2 separate regions of the Homo sapiens genome follow, and region 2 is linked to region 1. The links are contacts of gene promoters, found by promoter capture Hi-C in blood cells and fetal thymus (Javierre and others, 2016). All regions are on one chromosome and are shown on one strand. Each heading gives the region's core, a stretch centred on a gene start or on the middle of the fragment in contact. The rest is flanking DNA. Distances are from core to core; before and after follow the strand shown.

Region 1 (6,524 bases), core at 2,031-4,530:
GAGGAATGAACATCATTGTTTTGTTCTGGAGGGAAGTTCTTGGTGGTGTTTCTTTCACCCAATATTGACTTAGATATTAAAATGTGGTGCTTATAAGACAGAGTTTAAAAAAAATGAATAGTAATACTTCGATTAAAATTACAAAAGAGACAAAAAATAGTTTTGAGTGTTGTGGAAGCTGAGTGTTGGGGTAAGAAGAGTAGGTGTCTGCACTTTGCTATAGACTCCTGATGATAGTGAGGAGAAGTGGAGAGCTGTGTGGACTTGGTCCAAGAGTATGGGGCTGTCTTCAGACATCTGCTGTGGAAGCCAGGTGTAACTCTGACTTTCCAGAGCATCTTACAAAACCAGTTCTCCAAAGCGCAGGCTTTGGAAAACCTTGCCCTGACTACTAAAAGAGGAAGAGCAACTGACATTTATTCTATACCCATTGTGTACTAGGCACTGTGCTTCTTGTGTATATTATAAAATATAACCACTATAGCATCTGTACTTAGTGTGAATTATTTTTATGAAAACCACTTTGCTGATGCGAAAACAGACCTCTCATGCTCATTAGGTGTCTTTCACAGCTTGTTTTTTAGCATCACAAGACGACACCCTGCATTGAGGAACAAAAGTCCTGAGGTGTAGGAGAGCAATGACTTTAGAGTACTGGGATTCTGTGGGGATGGAGGGTATACCCCTTTTCACTCCATCCGCTTCTACAAGACAAGTGTTTTCAGAAGAGAGAAAACATTTCATTATAATGAAGGCATGAATAAAACTAGTCTGAGTGCTGGATCCAAGGGGCCTGGGGCCAAGGTGTGTGCCAGGCAGGACCCTAGAACCAGAACTGCTTTAGAGGGCAAGTCCAGGAACCAGGGCACAACATCATCATGACACAATGTTTCATGTCCTCCAAAGACACAACGTTAAAATAGCCTTTTCCAGTGCAACCTGGTCTTAAATGGGATGTTTCAGGCAAAATCACAATCAGGGATTTTCCTAAAGGAGCTGTTACCTTCAAATGCATCAAGACACGAAAATCCAGAAGTAGAAAAATCAACCCACTTTAAAAAAATATCTTCCACGGACAAGATAGGAGAATAATTTAAGGAAGATACAGCATAGCATAAAGAACGTTGATCACGTTTAAAGTTTGTTTCATGGTTTTCTGAACTTCCATCACTTGGAGAAACAATCCATTATTCTGCAACAGTTTAGGGGAGGTTCTCAAAAAGGTAACCGTTTGAGAACTCAGTGAATTGCCAGCACATTTTGCAGTTGGAAGCTCAAATTTTTATAAATAACATGCGGGGAATCCAGATAGGATTTATTTTTTAATTTCACAATTGTATTTCCAATGCTGGATTCATAGGCACTTCCTTGTCATAGTAGCAGCACATTAATTTTAGCCTAAATAATTATTTAAATTATTTAACTATTTAAATTATTTAACTATTTAAATAATTATTTTACTAAGAAGAATCCACGAAATGAAAATGAGCACGTTCACTAATTTTCATATTGCCTGACCATCTCATAGCACCATGGTCACAGACTGCAAAGCCTCTCACCGGAACAAGACAGACCAGCAAGGAAGTGTAGGTTCAACAGCACATGAGAATCATAACTTTTAGTGCCAGAGTGTCTGAACCAGAGAGGAGGGAAAATGAGAGGCCAAGAGTTGTCTCCATTTTCTTCTCTTCACAGTATCCTGCATAGTGGCACAAATCGAACTGGAAAGCCCAAGCTAACAACACCGCCCTGGGCGAACCGCCTGTCTCCACCGGCTCCTCTGGGCAGGAGGCTCCAGCCTGGGGGTGCCTGACAGCTCTCCTTCCCCGGCGCCTGTATTATACATGTAACATTTATATTTCTATCCACACAGCGTTCATTCAGCCATCCATTCAATCACCCAGGCATATTTACACGGATGGAACACATTCGCGGAGAGATGTGTGTGTTTGAGTTCCAATCACTGCAGCCCGTATTGGCGCGGCGCTTTGTCTCGCTTTGGGTCACCACCACAGGAGCAACGATTTCGGGGACGGCACACGCCTGTGTGACCGCTTCCCACTCCACTTGGGTTCCGTGAGCGCGCGGAGCCGGAGGAGTCAGGGACGTGAGGATGCCCTACTTCCCGCAGCATCCGGATGGCAGGGTCTGCGTCGGAAGGCCCGGGAGGGCGACGCCCTCCACTGCTGCCGCGGGGTGGGTGCGCCAGGCCTGGGTGTGGCCTCACGGGAGCGAGTTTCTCTCCAGCCGCCTGGCCCACCGCTTTGGAACAGTGAAGCTCGAGTTGGGGTCTCCTGCACGCCAAGGGGAGAAATGTTTGTTTCTGACAACACAAGCAAAATTCTCTCTCCTGCACGCCAAGGGGAGAAATGTTTGTTTCTAACAACACAAGCAAAATTCTCTCTCTCTCTCCCTCTCTCTCTCTCTTCTCTCCTCTCTCTTTCTCCCTCCTCCTCCTTTCTTTCTTTCTCTTTTTCTTTCTTTCTTTCTTTCTTCCTCCTCCTCCTCTCTCTCTCTCTATCTCTCTCTCCACCCCCCCCCCCTCATATTTGGTTGTTTCCCCTCTAAGGGGCCACTTTCAATATCTGCCTGTGAGCCCAGCTGTCTGGCCCTATGTAGCATTGGGGAGACAGTAGACTTAACCCAGCGAAGTTTTCTTCTGTTTGCTCTTGCTGTGCCCAAGTTTCCTCTGGACTTGTCTTCCAGCGTCGGGGTGGGGGCTGGGGGAAGTAGGCAACCTAGCTCTGCCTGGTTGCTCCCTGGAAGCCAAGTCGAAGTGAACAAGTCAGTCCCAGGCCCGGAAATAGAATACAAACCCTCTTTTTGTCCGGTGCTAACAGAGTCCAGCAGTCAGAACTCCCTCGCGTCTCACGCTGGACCTGACCCGGGGCGCCGCCAAGTGCGCAACGCACAGTCACAGTTGGTGACTAATTAAGGACTGCCGCCCCTCTCCTTCACCTGCTACAAACTCAGAGCCCTGACTTCTCCAGAAGTACCTACCACTTGGAGGTGGCTCTCCTTCCCCGCCCCCTGCCCCAGTCCCACACCGCAGCAGCGCCTCAGCACCGCGACTTGCCGGAGCACCGCGAGTGGCGCGCGGGTCCCGCCTCCCCCGCGCGCCGTGACTCCCTGCGCACCGCTGGTACTCTCGCCACGCCGCCGCCCGGCACTGCAGCACCAGGGGGAGGAGGCAGGCGGAGGAGAGGAGGAGGACCGCAGCGTGCAAGCCGGGAGCCACTTTCCCGCCCCTCCTCTCGCCGCTGACACGCTCAGAGGAGTCACCACTCCGCGCGCTGCAGGCGAGAGTGGCAGACGGAGGCAGCCCGGGGAAGCGAGCCGGAGCGGCGCCCGCACTGAGGCGGCTGCAGTGCTGACACCACTCAGGGCAAGGGTGTCCGACGGCTGGAGCGGTGAGTGGGGGAGGTGAAGCGGGCATCCGCGGGGAGACTTTCCCCCGCTGCTGGATTTCTCTTCCCGACTGGTGGCCGGGCGCTGCAGCCTGGGGAAGTTTTTGCAGCCTTTCGGAAGCGCAACTTTGCCCCGCCTGCCCCCGGGGAAGCGGCTGCAGGTGCCCGCTGCTTTGTAGGCGCCTTTGTTGGAGAGGGACCAGGAAAGTAGGGGTAAAATAGATGCAGTGACCCCAGGGTTCGCTAGGGTAGGTCTGGGGACTGGGTCGCACTTTATCTGGGATTCCCAGAGGAGGTGGGTGGGCAGCAGCGGGGATGCAGGGGCCGCATCTGCAGCGACCGCCACGCTCTTTTTTGCTTGTGTGGTTTGACCGGCAGGGATAGGCAGATTCAAATCTAGCAGCCTAGAGCCCCGGGCTGGGTACCTGGACCTATACCTTCATAGCTGCCTTAGGCTCAACTTTTCGGCGGGGATCCCTCTGCAGACGTGCAGGTGGCGGGAGAGCAGAGGTAGCCGCAGTAAGTGCTGAGAGAGCCTGAAAGAAACACCATGAATTTTCAAACTCTCCCACATACATTCCCGAAGCGCCTGTCTGGCGTCTAAGAGAGAGCAAGAGAGGGCTGGAGAGCAGGGGAGCCCGCGGGGCTGAGGCTCTTTGTCAGCGCCTGCACTTCCTACGTTACAACGCCTTCATTCAGCAAAAACCTTTTGGGCGCCTGCTGTGCGCCAGGCCAGGCGAAGCAGACCCGAGGCTGTGAAGCTCAGAGGGGAGAGGGACCAATCGCAGTAAATAAGCTACCGAGGTAATCTTAGATGGCGATGAGGGCAGCAAAAGCCATCAGCCGACCCTCTGACCCTTTCTCTTAGTGGGCTTTTCCCCTTCCGCCTGGGTTCTAGAACTGGGAAGACTTTTCTCCAGAGCGTCGCGGGGAGCGCCCCGGGCTGGGCCCACGGGGACTGCGGAATACGGGGATGAACTTGGCTTGGGGCAGCCAGCACCCCACGGCAGATGAACAATCGGGAGCAGATCTGTGGGCGTGCGGGGACCTTAGGCGGCGCGCGGGGGCGGGGGGAGGGGCTGAGCCACGGGGGCTAGAGGTGCCGCCTGGACGGCCTGAGCTGGGGGCGCTCGCGTCACCTTCTACGTGTGCGAGTGATGCAAATGCAGACCCGCGAGGGGCGGGCGGGGGTGGCGGGCGGGGGCAGGCGACGGAGTCTCCGTCTGGGAGCGCGCGTGTGTGCGTCAAAAGCTCTGGGTTGATGGATGCCCCGCGGCGCGCCTGGCGCGGAGAGCGGCGACCCGGCGGGGCAGAGGGGGGCGGGAGGACTGCGGCGGCGCGGGGCGGCGAGGAAAGCCCCGCACGGCCTGGGCTGGCGGGCAGGCGGCTCCGCAGTGCGCCGCAGTGCCGGGAAGGAGCCGCAGCTACCGGGCGCTCCCCGGGGGACCGAGGAGATGAGGCGTCTTTTAAGGCTCATGAGAGCCTTAAGGAGATGAGACCGGGATGCCGTGATGGTCTCCTCTCCCGCTGAACCTAATCCCTTCATACTTAGCTGACTGCTAGCGCGGTAGCTTCCGTTTAATTCTTATCCTTAATTCTGAAGAATGTGGCATTAATCTCTCAGGCGTTCACTCATTTTCCATGGCAAGTTCCGAAAGGCCTCGTGCTCGTGGGAAGTTTTCATGTGAACGCCTAGGTGTTGAGGTTCGTGAGGTTCTGTAGTGCCAACCCGTTGCGCCACCATTCTGCAGGATTTTTGGCAGGAGGCCTGGCCTCTAAGTGAGGTTTAAGAATGTCTTACAAAACAATATGCCGCATTCCTCTTTCATGGCATAAAAATACGCGTTAAAAAACACTACTGATAACGCATTCTCTGGTGGAAAATAATAAATCAAATCCACGATCCATTTTATTCTTTTTTTTAAAGACCACTTTCTGGAAACCCAGTGACAAAGTTTTTCTACTGGCTTTACTGAAGGAGCCCAAATCTGCAGTATGTAGGCAAAATGAATGAAAGGGGACGGGGTTGGGAAAAAAGAAAGAAAGGAAGGGAGGGAGGAAGAAAAGCAATTATCAAGGAACCCAGAGACACAGATGCTAGTCACCATTTCCCCAAATATTGTGTTATGTCACCTTGGGCAGGTTACTCACCCTCTTGGGTTCATCTTCCACCTCTGAGAATTGTGAAAAATAGCTTATACTAGCTCTTATGTACCTTACAGGGTTGTTTTGAAGACAAAAGAGATAATCTCAGAGAGCTTTGGCTTTGGAAATACAAATTTTCCATGAATGGAAAATATTAGCAAACAAAGCCCCTACACACACACACACACACACACACACACACACAGAATTTTCTTTTAAAAAATTCTAGAGACTTTTCCCAGCATTGTTTTTTTAATGAAATTTGGCCCTCAATGTGAGCAAATGCAGACAGCAGACTTTTCCTAACAGTCTAATATGTAATCCAATGCCATTAGCTACTGACTGTCTGGAGAAGGAAAAAAAGAAGCTCTGGATCACATCTGAGTGTTTTGTTCATGTAGTGGAGAAATCAGCTTTATTTTTCATGACCCAATGACAGTGAAAGTAGCTTCTCTGATCTGAGCAGCAGACTGGCCTAACAGCTTGTAGTAAAACTCCTATTCATTATTAACCCTATCATATTCCTTAAGTGTGGAAATGCTTCAAATAATAGGATCCAGTTCCCAGTCTCCAGGAGATTACGGCAAAGGCATCATAATGTGCAATATATCACGTGACGACAAGTACCAGAAAACCCATTTCCTATAATTAGGAGTGTTATCTCTTATTCTTAAGCAAACTTGATGACATATTGTATGAATAAAAGCATGTGATTTGTCAAAATGGCTCCTTAACCAGCCCACTGTTGTTATTCATATTACTCCAGATGACGGTAGATTTCTGTGAGTAGTGAAAGCAAAATGCCTCTTTTTCTGTGCAGCTATATCAAGGGAAAACCTTCAATACACCAGCGTATTTCTTGGTTCCATGTTGGTGAGGTTCCTGTTTGACTGTGGTTCACAGCATACATAGTATTCTCCATTTAAACACAAACTCATCATTTCAATGAAGTCTGTTTGTAAACCCAGGAAA
Region 2 (6,524 bases), core at 1,555-4,054, 560 kb after region 1:
AACTTAGAGGAAAAAAACATGATCTGAGTCTGACCAATGCTACCAAAAATACTTAATGACAAGAAGATAGTGAAGAACACAGTTTATTGACTCATTTCAGTTGTTCAGAGGTCGTACAACTTTTAGGAAAACGACATTGTAGCAATGGATTATTAGTGCTAATTTTGAAGAAAAAAATGAAATTATAGACATACTAAAAATTTATATGCCATGGTTGAAAAGATGTATCAAACTATAAAGCAGCAGCATCGAAGATTTAAAATTTAGAATAAAAATTGATCATGTGGCATCCCAAGATATACCCCAGGTATAACTTTTTGTTATATCAAGCATCAGTCTGTTAAGATTATTAACCAGTGGAAGGTCTAACACTGTTATAAAAAATTGTATTTATTCTAAACAACTGGAATCCAGTTACCTGTTTTATTCAATGAATGCATACATATATGTCTTCTCTTAAAGATATGTATGCATCTTTGGTATGATTTCACTTTTAGCTCTTTAAGTTAACCAACCATTAATTCCAGTTGTACTAGATAAGAGTCATCAGCTGTAGAAGTGACAGTCCAGTCTTTCTTTGCATCTCTCATCGGGCATAAAAGTAAACCCTGTTCATACCCCACATGAAACTTTCTTATAACCCCCTTCTTCCTTTTTTCTCATTCTTCTAGATTTCTGCTCTCTATCCTTAATAGCACTTATCTTGCCTCTCCCACCCCTTTGTCTTTTGCCCCAGAGCATCATTCTGAGTTTGGCCACAGCTCGTTACAGGGGTCTGCCTACTCTGGCCTGGGGAAGAAATGGGAAAGAAGTCTGAGGACCTTATGGCCATTGCAGTCTTTTCCTTGGCAGTCCGAGGGAAGCGGGAGGTGATGCATGTTTTTACAGCAAGCATCCTTGTCCCTTTACATTCTGTGGAGCTCAGGCCTCATGCCTGGTCCTTGCCAGCATCATCCATACATCTCTGCCTCCAAATCCTGAGATCATTGAGCTGCATTCTCTTGCCACCTCAGCACCAAGCTCAGAGATTCCAAAATCATATTGCTAGAAAGAAGTTAAGCCAGTTTCATCCCTCAGCTCTGCTTAAATTTGTTTTTAAACCAAGCCAAAAGGAGACATCCATATTATTTTCTAAAAGATAAAATATCAGAAGCTATTCTATGTGTGCCTTTCAGCTGATGTGTGAAGTGTAACCATAAGAAATATCTCTTGCCAGGACATTATTGAGGAAGTCACAGTAGGTTACATTCGTGAGAATATATGGTCTGCTTCAGAAGAGTTGCTTCTTCGCTTTCAAGCCACAAGCTCAGGACCCATCCTTAGGGAAGAGTTTGAAGCTAGAAAATCATTTTTGCATGAACAAGAAGAGAATGTGGTCAAAATACAGGTATGTGGATCACCTGCCACTGTTTACACAAAACTGTCATATCACCTGAAAATGTTTTATTTGATAATAGAATAGTCAACTACCAGCATTCCTATAAACAAATCTGACTGCATATTTTTACATAATCAGTGCCCCTAGTCTACTTCACTAAGGCTTTAAAATAGGAAGCATTTTGATGATGAATGACTTAACCTATGGTCTTCTAGAGAGCATTTAGGAGCACCGCAGATTTGCACAGATCCACCTGCTGCCAACCTAGTTGGACCCAAAGGGATATACCTTGGATCAGAGTTGAAATCATACCTGACTTGGGGACTTTACAATTTGGCTTTTTTGTGGTTAGTAGATGTTGAGTGGCGTCTTAGTTTCTGTGCTGTTCTAGCCTGAAAGAACAGGAGAACTAATGAAATAAACAGATTTAGCCTCTCTAAGAATGTCTTCTACCTTCTGTAATCTGTCACTCTTCATTTAGGCCTTCAGGAGAAACCTTCATTCCCAATTTTTTTGCTATAAATTGTTCTTAAGTTTGCATGACTTGTCTAAACTTTCTGATTGGCAGGAGAATTTGCCAGGTTTAGATGTTTCTCTTCTGTATTCCTATAGCGCCCCCTACCAGTCACCACACTGGTTTGTGAAAGGCTGTGAGTTTGTTCTTTTTATTGTGAGTTCAAAGGGGTATTATTAACAACTGGTAAAGTCTGATGCTGATGGGTTTTTACTTTGAAGTTTCCTAAATTGAACATTTTTCTGTTGAAGACCTTCTTTTTTGTGTGGTCACTGGTGAACTCATCTGCTTTTCCCACCTAACTGTAATGTCCAAGGCAGAAAATGAATTTTACAAACATTTGTCTTCTTGTATCTTGCACATGATAGGTGCTTACATATTTAAATTTGCTTGGAGCTTAAGATATTATTAGCAAAGCAGAAATAATTAATTTTATAAAAGAAATTTCTACTATAAATCTGACACTCAAAGGATTTTTCTAGGTGGGCCAATGAGTTTACAATGTATTCCTTTAAACAAATAGTAGGCAAAACACACAGGAAGTGAACAAAAGCCTAAAAATAGTCATCTACACTGATGAGACTCTAATTTTGCACAAATTTCACGTGTCAGCCAATATAAAATTGGGACCCCACACTCTCCAGTCTCAGGTCACACAGCAGTGTTGCAGTTGGAAGATATACCACAGAGCCCACCAGTACAGAATCCCTCTATATTAGAAACCAGGGCTGAAGGATGAGAGAAATGGGGTAAGGACAGGAACGATCATTTGGAGCCTTTTTCCTCCACCTCAGCAGAGGCAAAAGAATTGACGAAGCAGCCATCAAACCATGAAGTCACCTCACCACGCCTTTTTTTCAGTCTTCTGACAATTTTCCAAAACAGAGGGCATGAGGCCTAAAGGTAAGCCTACTTTACAGATGTGGACCAGAAGTGAATAATACAGTTAATAGGAACCTGCTGACCCATAAAACCAAGAGACTGTGAACCAAAAGGTGTCATGCTAATCTCATTTCTCACCAAAGTGGCTGGTTCACCTTCAAGTAGGAAAATGTTCTGATATCTGAGAAGGTCCCCTACGTAAAACACTGTGAGCTTCCTAGCTGGCTGAACTGCCCCCCAGACACAGTAGTCTTAACACATTTGGAGAGAAATACAAAGGCAAAACTCCTAGGCCGAGGCCAGCTATACTCCGGCTACACCACCCTCCCTGCCATCAGTGGTCTGCCAAGGAAATGAGTAGTGGTACAGAGAATGTGCAGCATGATCAACATCCAGCATTCTGTCTCAAGTGCTTATGGAGTTAACTGGGAGGTGCCCAGGTCAATATAGAGGAAGTCAAGGAGAATCTACATAGCCATATTATTTTTGAGCAGTTAGAAGTCCCCGATAAAATTGCCTGAGTGAGCCAGAAAAAAAAATCTGTTCATAAACAAAAAAGATTTTATATCAGAAATAGAAAAAGGAATGTAACTTGTAAAATATAAGTGGAGTAGATATCTAGAGTTACTCTTCCAGAAGACAGGAGAAAATTTTATACTGAAGCTGCTTTATACTGTCAAGGAATTTGATAAGACATGGACTTAATGAAATAAGAAGACAATAGAATAATAAAATGAAAAGACAGCTGACAGCTAAGGAGAGGAAGAGAAATAATGATGTTATAGAATGTAAATGAATTTATAACTGCAGAATGCAAATTAGACACTGAACATAATTGGAGCAGACACAAAAAACTTCAGAAAAATCCACAAAAGATGAGAGAAAGAATAGATGACTAAAAACACACTTTCTCATCTGAAAAATATAATGCCCATTTTATTGCAGGGTGGTGAAGACTGACTGGAATAATTCACATAACAGATGTTTCCTAGTATTTGCTTCTCAAGTGCTTGATAAACTTTAGAAATGGTAAGATGATAGAGATAATGACTCAGAAGGCAGATAATGGGGATCCAATATTGATATTGTTGGTGTGGCACAGGAAAACATCAGAAAAAAATGAAATAGGATTAGAGTAGGTAACTACAGGAGGAAGTTTTTTTCATGAACTGAAGAAAGCTAGTATACTACTTTTTAGGAAAGGACATAATAGTGGCAAACACCAAAACTTAGCCCTGAGAATTAATGAATTATTGAACTTCAGCTCAGGGAGTGCCACAAGCATCCTGGTGAAGAAAAACAAGCTACTCTGAAGGAACTTCACTTCGCCAGGAGCAGTGGCAGAGTCTGTGGGCCAAGAGGAAGGGGATGGCCTGGGAGAGTCGGTCCTCAGTTGTTTTAATGTAACCGACTGCTCTTATAGATGGCTGGATTTTTTTTACCTTTGAGGAGAGGGAGAAGAGGTAAATGTTTAGGGCTTTCTTGGCTAACCGAGATCACACAAGTATTCTGTGCATCAGAAGTTGGCATTGGTAATTTGAATATCTCTATACTGAGTGTCCAGTTATCAAGCATAGCAGCCAGTGTATCAAGCCAGATTTCCCAGAGAGTAATAGTTAAAGTCTATAAAATAGAGCAATGACCTCTGAGGTCTAAGCGTTTTGACAGACTTCTTTTATACAGATACTCTGCACAGAAAATATATTTATGGTACTAGAAAACAAAACAAATAAGATGGCTATTATAAATTTTCCCACAAGTTCCCATACCAGGCAGGAGAATGAGACTGCCATTTTTGTAAATCCTTTTTTTTTTTTTTTTTTTTTTGAGACAGAGTCTTGCTCTGTCGCCCAGGCTGGAGTGCAGTGGCACCATCCCAGCTCACTGCAACCTCCACCTCCTGGGTTCAAGTGATTCTCATGCCTCAGCTTCCCAAGTAGCTGGGATTACTGGCATGCGCCACCACACCCAGCTCATTTTGGTATTTTTTATAGAGACAGAATTTCACCATGTTGGCCAGGCTGGTCTTGAACTCTTGGCCTCGAGTGATCTGCCTGCCTCGGCTTTCCAAAGTGCTGGGATTATAGGCATAAGCCACCACACCTGGCCTGTAAATCCCATCTGTCTGTAATTTTCAAAGTTTCTTTATATCAACTGTATACCCATATTTGCTTATAATAAACAGCCTCTAATTAGAGAAGAGATTACAATGTCATGGCTATGCACAAGAGTTCTGTTGTTAGGACATAATAGGAAAAGCTCATCTCAAAGGAACTAAAACTTACAGACTAAAAAAAGAAAAACAGAATTTTGGCAAATGAAAGATGAGGCATGTAGTATTCTGCTTCTATGGAACAAAAAAATTCTTTTATTATTATGCTTTAAGTTCGGGATACATGTGCAGAATGTGCAGGTTTGTTACATAGGTATACACGTGCCATGGTGGTTTGCTGCACCCATCAACCCACCATCTAGATTAGGTATTTCTCCTAATGCTATCCCTCCCCTAGTTCCCCACCCCCTGACAAGCCCCAGTGTGTGATGTTCCCCTCCCTGTGTCCATATGTTCTCATTGTTCAACTCCTACTTATGAGTGAGAACATGCGGTGTTTGGTTTTCTGTTCCTGTGTTAGTTTGCTGAGAATGATGGTTTCCAGCTTCATCCATGTCCCTGCAAAGGATGTGAACTCATCCTTTTTTATGGCTGCATAGTATTCCATGGTGTATGTGTGCCACATTTTCTTTATCCAGTCTGTCATTGATGGGCATTTGAGTTGGTTCCAATCCTTTGCTATTGTGAACAGCACTGCAGTAAACATACTTGTGCATGTGTCTTTATAGTAGAATGATTTATATCCTTTGGGTACATACCCAGTAATGGGATTGCTGAGTCAAATGGTATTTCTGGTTCTAGATCCTTGAGGAATTGCCACACTGTCTTCCACAATGGTTGAACTAAGTTACACTCCCACCAGTAGTGTAAAAAGCATTCCTATTTCTCCACATCCTCTCCAGCATCTATTGTTTCCTGACGTTTTAATGATTGCCATTCCAACTGGCGTGAGATGGTATCTCATTGTGATTTTGATTTGTATTTCTCTGATGACCAGTGATGATGAGCTTTTTTTCATGTTTGTTGACTGCATAAATGTCTTCTTTTGAGAAGTGTCTCTTCATATCCAGGAGCAAAAAAATTATATTCCCAGCCAAGCTGCCTTTGTTTGGAAACGTAAAAAAACTCATAAATATAGAAGAATACCAGAAAATTTTACATAAATAGTTATGAGATGAAACATAATAATGAGCTCTCAAGGTAAATAGTTAATCCTTAGTATATTAAAAAAAAAAAAACAGAATGGACGAATGGGGTAATTTTGCCAATGCAGGAATGATTCAATATTAAATAATCTGTTACTATGACAGGTCACTTATTCAGAATGTTTGCGAATCTCAGATAATTGAAATTAAGTGTTTTTGGAGTTTAGGTAATTCCAGAAGAGCAGAATAGGAACTTGAGCTAATTCCAATTATCTTGTTTAGCCTTTCAGTATGGACTAAGGAAGGAGTGGAATTTATAATATACATTCAAACAATTGCACTTCTCTGCTTTAAACCAGTGTTAACCACCAAAATATAGGAACTGTTAAGATCCATCACAACACATGTTTTACTGGTTGGACTGCCATGGAATCCCAGTGACCCACGATTAGGGTCCACTTCCCCTAGTTTCTGTTGTGCTGTTGGGCCACT

Evidence for each region. The method cuts DNA at HindIII sites, captures the fragments that hold promoters and counts their contacts. A CHiCAGO score of 5 or more calls a contact.
Region 2: a contact is called between a fragment that was not itself captured here and the fragment with the promoter of SV2C in region 1, in 1 of 17 cell types (naive CD8 T cells). The highest score is 5.1, in naive CD8 T cells.

The regions. Positions count from the first base shown.
Region 1 is chr5:76,080,103-76,086,626 of GRCh38, forward strand. SV2C (synaptic vesicle glycoprotein 2C) reads left to right here and starts at 3,281. Exons shown (of 13, transcript NM_014979.4): 1 at 3,281-3,410. SV2C-AS1 (SV2C antisense RNA 1) reads right to left here and starts at 3,315. Exons shown (of 2, transcript NR_183290.1): 1 at 2,817-3,315; 2 at 1,304-2,294. RefSeq lists an enhancer at 2,092-2,645. The HindIII fragment of the contact is 14,928 bases long and covers 1-6,524 here.
Region 2 is chr5:76,639,717-76,646,240 of GRCh38, forward strand. It overlaps IQGAP2 (IQ motif containing GTPase activating protein 2), which reads left to right. Exons shown (of 36, transcript NM_006633.5): 17 at 1,217-1,387. Among named protein-coding and RNA genes, the nearest start is that of F2RL2, 20 kb to the left of the region's middle. The HindIII fragment of the contact is 9,128 bases long and covers 1-6,524 here.